2 separate regions of the Homo sapiens genome follow, and region 2 is linked to region 1. The links are contacts of gene promoters, found by promoter capture Hi-C in blood cells and fetal thymus (Javierre and others, 2016). All regions are on one chromosome and are shown on one strand. Each heading gives the region's core, a stretch centred on a gene start or on the middle of the fragment in contact. The rest is flanking DNA. Distances are from core to core; before and after follow the strand shown.

What was found. Contacts are between HindIII fragments. The CHiCAGO score rates a contact against its expected background, and 5 or more counts as called.
Region 2: a fragment that was not itself captured here is called in contact with the fragment with the promoter of SLC35G1 in region 1 in 1 of 17 cell types (non-activated CD4 T cells); the score reaches 5.1 in non-activated CD4 T cells.

The regions. Positions count from the first base shown.
Region 1 is chr10:93,891,359-93,896,670 of GRCh38, reverse strand. It overlaps SLC35G1 (solute carrier family 35 member G1), which reads right to left and starts at 2,693. Exons shown (of 3, transcript NM_001134658.3): 1 at 2,460-2,693. The coding sequence starts at 2,637. RefSeq lists silencers at 755-804, 2,290-2,719. The HindIII fragment of the contact is 3,349 bases long and covers 957-4,305 here.
Region 2 is chr10:90,870,079-90,875,390 of GRCh38, reverse strand. It overlaps RPP30 (ribonuclease P/MRP subunit p30), which reads right to left and starts at 3,417. Exons shown (of 11, transcript NM_006413.5): 1 at 3,323-3,417; 2 at 467-522. The coding sequence starts at 3,404. RefSeq lists enhancers at 3,107-3,166, 3,297-3,566, 3,285-3,579. The HindIII fragment of the contact is 1,124 bases long and covers 1,882-3,005 here.

The sequences.
Region 1 (5,312 bases), core at 1,444-3,943:
GCTTTCCAACTGGGAAGGGACAGACATTAGAAGGCCTCGCTGCATTTGATGATTTGTTAACGAGGGTGAGGACTGGCTCCACTCAGACAAACCTCAGTTTCTTACTAAATCATTTCAATCCTGTCAATGGAGATGAGCATGACTAGCATAACTGAAAGAGGCATTTGTTTAGGTTCCATGTTCATATCTCACTGCAAGCATATCTAATAATTTGGTAACTCAAATTATTCAAATTAGGTAAGTGGCCATGGTGTAATTTCCTCACTTAGAAGAAAACTGAAAAATTACTCAGCTTCTCTATCCTCTGCTTTCAGCTGGTGATTCGCAATCCTGGTTGGGAATTAGAATCACCTGAGTAACACTTAAAACTTTAATTCCTGGGTGCAGTGGCTCATGCCTGTAATCCCAGCACCTTGGGAGGACAAGGTGGGAGGATCTCTTGAGCTCAAAAGTTTGAGACCACCCTGGGCAACACGGGGAAACCCCCTCATCAATGCAAAAAATATTTTTAAATTAGTCGGGTGTGGTGGTGTGTGCCTGTGGTCCCAGCTACTCAGGAGACTTAGATGAAAGGATCGAGTAAGCCCAGGAGGTTGAGGTCGCCGTGAGCTGTGATCACGCCAATGCACCACAGCCTTGGTGACAGAGTAAGACCCTATCTCCAAAAAAAAAAAAAATTAATTCTCAAGCCCCATCTCAGACCCACCGAAATAGAATCTCTGTAACTCTAAAAGGCTCCACTAGTTTGAGAACCACTGCTACACTCGATCACTAACTCCCTCCAGAGGATGTGAGGCACAGGCCTAAGAAACTACTTCTCCTTGCTTCAGTGTAAGACCCACACTGTCCCTGAAGAAAGTAAGGAGATGTCTTGGGACAGCTGTATGTGTCTGTTAAGGTCATCCAAGAATGTAAGACATATGGGTAACAGTTCCAACCAGAACTTGAAAAAAGCTTTGTTGAGATAAGCAGTTAGAACAAGAGGTGTCACAAAGTTCAATGACAACAGTAAAGTGTTTTTATGTCAATTTTCTTTCCAAAATATTATCTTGTCACCTTACAATAACTAAGTCTTACTGGTAGAAACTTTCTTTGAAGTTAAACACCCACAAGATTCTTAGATACACTCACGTAAGTTTCTCATCTTGCCATGAGCTGCCTGGGAGTAGAGAATTCCTCTTCCATTCACAAAAAGGGGAAACTTTAAGAGTTTGCATGGACTGATTCGGCATGCCACCAGAAGGACATTCACCCAGAGGGTGATAGGTGAGAAACTGACCTTTTCAAAGGCTGCTTATCTGTTCAATTCAGCCTGGCATAACCCCTGTTCTAGAGGCACCAGCCCATTTATAAATGATCACAAGTCTGATCATTTCGGTTTGCCTTTAGGACAGAAATGGAGCAAGAATAGTCTTCCTAGAGTCTGTCTCTCTAACTTGGGGAAAGTGCACAAAGGGAGGAGGGGAAAGCGCAGTGAGAGGAGAGGAACAGAAATCCAGGGTCACACTTAGGGGAGGTGACCCAGAGGACAAGGTGGTGCAGGCCGTGTAACTGTCCTAAAAAGAGATCTGCCTATTCCCTTCTTCTTGCAGGAAGCTGCTCCTGGTAGATGGTCGACTTCTAAGAGGAATGTGCTTGAAGCAGCACTTGTGGCCAGTGGAAAGGGCCCTAGGCCGGTATATGGCAAGCTGGGATCCTAACCCTGGTGCTCCCTGGACATGCGCCCCATCTCACCCCCACGTTCCACATCTTGGAGGAGACAAAGCAAACGAAAACCCAAAAGCCCTCACCTTCCTGGGCCTCACTTTGCTCATGTGTCGAAGGAGGGGGACTGAACATAAAGTGTTCTTCACGAGGGGTCCCTGACTTTGGGGACGGGGCTGTGAGCTTCTTAACAAGATATGCCTTGTTCTGCATCGTTTGCTAAAAAGTCCTTGTATCCCTAAAGGTTAAAAACTAGCGGTCCCACTTATCTCTGCCTTTCCAAGATTCTAAAACTCTAGGACGAACATTTTTTCTAGACTCGATGCTTTTCAGCTTCCTTTTCGGAGAGAACCCTTAACCACCGGGATCACTTTTCAGGGTCAGCTTCCTCGCAACGTCGCCCCACTGCAGGATGGCCTCTCTCGCTGACCCCCCACCTACGACCTAGGGGAGGGTACGCCAAACTGCAGTCTGACTCCACAGCCCTGCCCCGACACTAATTACAGGAGCAGCCTCGGAATCCCAAAAGGACTGCTAACAATCGGAAAGTTTCTTCCGTCTTAGCGCCGGCTGGGGCGCCGGGAATTCCGCTTTGCAGCCCCCCAGCTGACAGCTCGAGGGGTTTCCCGAGCCCCGGGCAGGGTGGGGACGGAGGCGCGGCGGGCACTGTGCCCGGGTTGCGGGGACCCCAACCCGCCGGCGCCCGCTCGGGACCCCCGAGCGAGACCAGAGCCCGATCCACACCGCGCACTCACCCGGCTCGGTGCGGGAGCAACACGGCGAGGAAAGGCAGAGCCAGCACCTACCGCGGTCTGGCGCCCCAGCTGCCTCGGCGGCCGCCGGCTCCTCAGTGGCGCCCGGGGGTGCATCGTCCGTTAGCGGCAGCCCGGGCTCCTGGAGCTCCGCGACCCCGGTGCTGTCCTGAGGCCGCATCTCGCGGCACGCGCTCTACCAGCGGCCGGTGCCGTCTGGCGCCAGCAGCAGCGCCTGGGCTGCCGCTCTTCCGGCGGGCGATGGCGCCCATGCGCATGCGCGCCCGGCCCACCCGCACCCTCCCCCAAGGAGACCGCGCGCGTCCTCCGCTGGCCTCTTAACCTGGGGAGACCCGCTGCCTCCCTGGTCGGGCTGTGGTGCCCACAGCTGGCTCTAAGGCGTCCAACCCTCTGCTGCGTTCAGGCTACATGGCCCAGCTGCTTGGAGCCATCCTTGGCAAGTCACACTGAACCTGTCTGTCATGGCACAGACAAGGAGGGGCGCTGGGTTCCCAAGCCCTGGCGCCCGGGGGTCCTGTGGCCTCCTTTTCAGGAGGCTCAAAGAGTGGGCGTTTTTTCATTGATGTAACCACGCATTCAGCACCTCTGTGATACCCCGAAGATTTTACAAAGCACCATGCTTGTCTTTAAATGGTCTAGGGTTTTTATGTTTTGTTTTGTTTTGTTTTGTTTTGTTTTGTTTCCCGTGTTGTCCCTTTGCTGCTTACCAAGGAGGGTAGAATTTTGCTGTTTTGGGAAATATTTTTAAGAAAGAATTAGTGTGTAATTATAGGAAAATATATCTATAAGACTGACCAGAACCCATTTATATGTTCTTTGCATTCTTTGCAAGAGTAGGCATGCATTATTGATCTTTGGTTTTCTTTTCTTAAATGGAAATATCCTAATTTGGCCAGATGTAAGATTCAAGTAATCTGATGTAATTAGACCTGGTAAAATATATTCTTTGGCCCAGGATTCACTAACAGCCTCTTTTTGTTTAGCTAATAATTCTTCTTCCATCTCTTTGCTTGCTTTATATGTGGAAGAACAGTCTCTGTGCAAGGATGAACGTATCTAAACTTCTAAGTCCAGTGCCAAGCAGATCACCAAAGGAGAGTGAAGTTTGCCTTTACTCAGACATTTGCACATAGTGATCCACAGCTGAAACAGTTTTAGACTTGAAGTCAGGAATCCTAGGTTCTGGCCCTGAGTGTGTGACCTCAGTCACCACTGTACCCCTCGAAGCCTTGATTACCTCCTTTATTTAATAGCGATCAAGTATTTCCCTTCCTGCTTCGCAGAGTAGTTATGTAAATAAAATGCAATGATGTGGGCAAAAGCATAATATCACCTGGAAAACACTATGTTAGAAAATCAAAGTGTGTTTTAAACTAGGGTCAGCATATAATTTATCCTCCAAACTGGACCTTTTTTTTTTTAAGAGTAAAAGGAGGAGCTCTTTTAAAAGTTACACAAGGGAATAGGCATAAACTGGGACTGTCCTAGGCAAACTGAGACAAATGGTCACCTGAATTCTAACTTGATTAACACATACTTTTGCCTTGTCTTAAAAGAGAATTTAAGGCTGGGCACGGTGGCTCAGCCTACCATCCTAGCACTTCGGGAGGCTGAGGTGGGAGGATTGCTTGAGCTTAGGAGTTTGAGACCAGCCTGGGCAACATAGACCTTGTCTCTATAAAAAAAATAATAATACTTTTAAAAGAATTTAAGGCTACTTACAAAAATATCTGTAACAGGTTTTGTTGTCGTTGTTTTAGATAGGGAAATTTCAGGGAAGGATGGTAAGGGTGGTAGATCATGATTATAAAGCAAGAACCAGGAAGCTTCCTCAAATATCTGGGAAGTCAAGTGCAGTTTCACAATTGCATTCTAAGATTTCGATATGGAAAGGGTTTGAAGAGTCCCCTCCTCTTAAATGGTGAAGATTATGGCTAGGAAGTGTGGTAAAGAAGAAAGAAGTGTGATGATTTGAGAAGGAAGTACCCTGACTGCTCCACTTTCAACACTTTCAACACCATCCTCGAAAAGGGAGAAGAAGAAGAGAAGAAAATGGGTACTACACCAGTTATTAAAGGTGGTGAGATGATTTCATACCTGCTGTTTATTCCCTTTAACTTCCTTCCCCTCCACTGCTGACCTTCATATATAAATGGTATCAGTTATATTCATTCTCCCATTTAGCTGACAGCCATGCTGACATAAAAGGCAACCAATGAGAAAAGTGCGGACCAAGCTGGCCTGTAATCCCAGCACTTTGGGAGGCCGAGGAGGGCAGATCACTTGAGGTCAGGAGTTCGAGACCAGCCTGGCCAACATGGTGAGACCCCGTCTCTACTAAAAATACAAAAATTAGCCAGGTGTAATGGCGGGTGCCTATAATCCCAGCTGCTCAGGAGGCTGAGGCAGGAGAATCACTTGAACCCAGGAGGCGGAGGTTGCGGTGAGCCGAGATCACGCTGCTGCACTATATCCTGGGCAACATGAGCGAGACTGTCTCAAAAAAAAAAAAAAAAAAAAAAAAAAAGTGCGGACCAGACTAGAAGTCAGAAGACATGGCTGTCCTGAAGCTCCACCCAGTAGAGGTGTGGGGCTGTTAAGGTCTCTCCTGAACATTGTTATTTCAGGTCTTTGGTGATGATAGTGATATTGAGCTGGTGACAGATAGATCTCCATAATGTGCAGGATGGGCCAGAAATCCCGACTGTAGAGGAGACTAGTTCAGAGCCTATTGAAGTGACCCAGATGAGATTCTGACCCCAGGTAGAGAAGGCAAGGAGGAAAGATGGATTTTGAGGTGGCTAGGAGATGGAATGTGCAGAACTCGTTGACTAG
Region 2 (5,312 bases), core at 1,194-3,693, 3.0 Mb after region 1:
GCTAAATAGAGAAGCAACTGTAAACATCAGTGAATAGGAAGAATGAAAACTAATTTTTAGACTGAAATAATCTACAGGATACAGTTGTTGGCCTAAAGAGAAATATACATACTTATTAGTAATGTTTAAGAGAGAAAGTAGTTAATAAGCCCATGACAATAGAATAAAAAGGACTAAATATTTTGATTACAGTCCAGCCAATAACAATGCACTTTTTGAACAGTGAAAAGTAACTTAATTTCAAATCACCTTTAAGAATCCTGAACACTATGTCATATTACCTCACAAAAATCATCATTGTATAAATATGCATCAGCTCGACTGTTTCTATATAAAATAGAAAAGTAGTAGTGCACAAAGGGGTGCATTTAAGAAATATTCTAATCTGTAGCTTCCAAATTACCAATACAAACAGAATTACAAATACTTATTTATGAACTTATTAACTTTAGAAATATTATTTTACCTGTTTCTTTTCCTTAAAGTCAACGATATGATTGATAGCAACAACTGAATAGCCAACTGAAAAAGAAAAATTGAACACTTTTGTTAAATATAACAACCTCTCCTTCCTGTAACACAGGTCCATCCTGAGTCTAGATGTCAAGAGTAGGAGGACATTTGAGGAGTGGTTATGAATGTGAACTCTAGTGTCAGTCTGCCTGATTTAAAGTCTATGCACTACCACTTACAAGTTACTTAACATGAAGTTTCAGGTTCCTCATCTGTCAAATGGTGAAAATAACAACACTTTCTTCATACACTGTCATGAAATTTAAATGAAATAATACACATGAGGTGTTTGAGAACAGTGCCTGGCACACAGGTCTTTGTTTAACCATTATGAATTATTATTAAAATGATACTAAAGACTCTTAACTTTGTGCTTCTCCTTTTCAAATGTCATTCTCTTTCATGACCCTATATTCATTTTTATCCCATCAAGTTCCTACTTTATCACTGTCACTTTTATTCCCGTTCATTTCTTTTGCTTTTTATCCTTCTACTTCCTTCAGAGACTCCTTTCCTAAGGAGAAATGGAGTGATAACTCCCTCACACCACTGCCCGCTTCCCATTTTAAGCTGCACACCATCGACAGACTGGGAGCTCCTTGAGGTCAAGGGCTTGCTTTATTATCCTCATCAGTTAGCACTGTTCTGGACATTTGGGCTACCAAAAAAAAATCTAAATCATGACTCCCATCTTTAATTTTTAAAAATACCAATGGGGATGAAAGGATATTAACATTAAAATACATATCAATGCCAAACTCTCAACAGTTTGTCCAACTTCCTTCTTCCCTTCCTCCCTCAAATATTTACTGAGCATCCATTACTTGACAAGCCCTAAACTGGTGTTGAGCATACAGGATAAATAATATAATCCTTCTCCACAAGAAATTTACAGCCTAGTCTGTTGGAGAACGAAGGCAAATAAGGCAATTAAGCAAGTCATTGTATATAAATACATGTTTTTTATAAGTAAGGATTCTATGGAAGTACATAGCACAGTGAAACCTGGTGTAGGGGTCACAAAAGGCTCCCTGAAGAAAGTTACCCTTAAAAACAAAAAAAAAATCACAAGTATGCCTGTACCTTGGGCTTCACCTTGCACCCAGTTAGTCAAATCAACCAGCCACACCTCCTCCCTATTCTTCTTTACCACACTCCCAAATCTGCTCTAAACTTCCTTGTTATACCCATTTAGGATATCCTTTTGGCTACTAAACAATGTCCCTACCGTTCTACAGAAATGTCAACTAGGATCTGTTTCTCCACAAAACTTTTTCCTAGACTACTCCTCATCTGGCAGCTTAGGAGTACTTACTTCCCCAATCAGGCTTTAGGGTATTTTAATTTACACAGTATATTTCTGAAGCTTATTATTGGTTTCTTGTATCACATCAGAAACTGAGAACCAGGGCTCTGTCTTTCCTATTCTTTGCAAATGTCCACTATTTAGTTCCAGACTCATCAAATAGCAGAGCAGTCCTTTGTCTTTGACTTGTAAGTTGAGGCAACTTTATATGCCATGAATTCCATTTAATTTACAAACAAATAACCACTAACAATGTACATATATTACCACACCTCTTCCAAGTGTATTTTAAACTGGGGGAAATTCTCTAAAGAAATCATTATTAACTTTTCTTTTTTGTATTAATTTTTTTAATGTGTTCAGTTTATTCCACAAGCATTAACTGAGTAACTGCCATGTACTGGTGCCTGCAGAGTGAACGTGTTAAGCACAGTAAATAAAAGGATAAGACATGGCAATTCTCTTAGGAAGCTCATGATTTATTCAAAAATGGGATGGCGTCAGGAAAAGCCTCATTGAGGAGGTAATAATTGCGACAAACTACACCTAGGAAAACTTATTTTACAGGATCAAAGAACATTAGCGCCAAATGGCCCAGATCATCATGTCTACTTTCGTCTTCGTGCTGATGAGCAAAGTACCACAGAGATAACGTTCATTTAGTGGCAGCAGTGGAAAGGGACAGTCATTTCGCCACGGATACTTCATAAAGAGAACAATAAAAAAGTGGTGTGATTCACTTTGCCAAGAAGTGGTTGTCATTTCTAGCACCACCTCTGAACAGTATCAGTAATCAGAACTCACAATGAGCTGAAAACTGTCTCTGAGGAGCAGATGTTACTACACGAACCTCTTGATTCTTTTTAATCTCTCTATTCCAACACTTTACAGTCTACGGAATACAGAACCCATGACTAACTCCAATAGTTAAAACAGGTTCTCGTCTCTCAAGGCTTTCGCTTCCCTTCGATTTGGGCCATGCTATCCTCCTCCTCCACCTCCACTCCGCTGTGTATGTCCTCTGCCCCCACCTACCCTCTCTCTGTCTAGATAGTATTGTTCCAACACTCCCACGTCCTCCTCCTTCTCCGAGCCTCCACGGCGCTTCCTGTCCGTGCCCCAAATTCCAGTATTTGTTTAGACACTGTCGTGAGAATCAGGAAGGGCTGATAGTAACTTAGAAGCTTAGAAGATTGTACCCTTGGAGTCCAGCTCCGGCTTCTGTCACCTATCAGCTGTAGGCCCCTATGCAAATCCCTCGCCCTCGTTAGGCCTCAGTTCCCTCATTGCAGGAAAGTAGCTGAACCAGATAACAACCCCCAGAACCTTCGAGTTTCCCGCGCTAGGAATCAGACCAACACCTCGGCGGGCATCAGCCTCCAGGGACATCCCAGAGACTCTGGGAGACCTGACCGAGACCCATCAGGAAATAGTTACTCCGGAGTGTGGCCCGATGGTCTGGGTGGCATGAGGTTGGCCAGGCGCGAAGCCGGGGCAACTCACGGTGAGCGGCTGTCTCCACAAGTCCGCGCAGAGCCTTCAGGTCAGAACCCGCTCGCAGGTCCAAATCTGCAAACACCGCCATGCTGAAGTCCCATGACCGTCCGCGCGCGCCAGTCTGCGCAGCCGCTGAGCCCGCCCCTCAGGCATGCTGGGAGCTGTAGTTAACCTGCGCAGTCCGTCTCTACCTCCAGTTGACTAGGGATTCGGAGAAACTTACTTGCTTTGCTTTCATCTACCACCAGAATTTGTGTGTTGAAATCAACAGCTTCATTTCAATCTCTCTTTGTCTTCTTCTGAACGACAATGTTTGGTTCCCCCTGGAGGGGTTCCAATTCCCAACTATTCAATACTCCTATAAAATAGTGTAGAAATGAATTCATTCAAAATGCACGCACACGGTATCTACTTAGTGCTGCTCATGAATCAGAGAATTCTGCTAATGGGTGAAAACGCTATTTAAAGAGTCTTAAAGAACACGTTTTCCTTTCCTTTCCCTAAAGTCCATTCCGTTGTTTACAATGGACTTACCGGGAAGAAGGCGTTTGTGTGTGACGGACTCTAGGACTTCAAAAGAGAACTACCCCAAGACGAGGGTCTTTTTACCCAATCAGAACTGTTGATGTCAAAGCCCGCTATTCTCTGTGGCAGTCAACATCTTCAACCACAAGATGGCGGGACTCGCTCTAGGACGAGCGGTTAGAGCCAACATTGATTTAGCCAAAGACATGTTTGAAAAGGGAGGTGCAAAATTGAGATGTTTTACACTTTTCCAGCTGAGAAATGTACAAGGTGACGCATATCCCACATATCTGATGTTTCCACTTTTTTCCGACTTAGTGTAAATGATCTATTGAGGATAATAATCAATTATACTACAAAAGTGTGACTATAGTTTACATCAGTGCTCTCAAACTACCTGTGATGAAGGATCAGTTTCTCCCTCCTTTTCCTCTACCCCCAAACTCTTCGCGAACCAGGATGTGGTCCTTTATGCATTACCAGTAAGCAGCCTGGCCTCATGGGAATCACAAATTTGACAACACTCGAACTGCCCTATACCTGGCTGAATAGAATCTGCTGATCAGGAGCTTGGATTATCAGGACAATGCCAAAGTACTGTAAACTTTCTAAACATCTTCACTTTTTGTTTGTTTGTTTGTTTTATTAACGTGCGCACAGCAACAACAATCACAGAATTAGAGGCTCGGTCATTTGACCTAGGGAGTATCCTAGTTGGTGGCCTGCTGAGTTTTCGTTTCGTTTTGTTTTGTTTTTAGAGAGAGTATCTCGTTATTGACCAGGATGGACTCTAACGCAAGCAATCCTCTCTCCTAGCTGTGATTACAGGAGCCCACCCACATGCTTCACCCATCAATTTCTCTTATTTACTGATCACAAACAGTTCACAGATAGTCTCTCGTCTATGGACCACACCTTAACTAGTACTCCTTTATGCGATTTTCTTGTCGGTCTCAGAAGGGAGGAAGGATCTGTTCCATGCAGTAGCATGCAATTCTCTTCTTGGTTAACTTTTGTAAAGAAGAGATATTTTGCCTTTTCCAGTACTTGATATTTCCTAAGTGGGAGTAGAAGAGAATATTACTTCTGCAAATAGAATAAGGTCATATGAAGCAAACGCTTTGTTTTTCATGAGAATATCTAGTGTTAATTTTGCAGGGTCACACAGGCATCATCACCTATGACCATAACAATCTAGATTGGTCAGAAATATGACCAATGTGTGGTGAAGGTGAATAAGGTGATAGTTCAATTATTTTTTCATTTTTAGTTGACACATTGTAATTATACATATTTATAGGGTACAATTTCATGTTCTGATACATGTATATGTTGTATAATGAACAAATCAAGGTAATTAGCATATTCATCACCTCATGCATTTTTGGTGATAACATTAAAAAAAACTCTTCTAGCTGTTTCGTGATATATAAACAATACCTTACTGTTAACCATAGTCACCTTGTGTGCA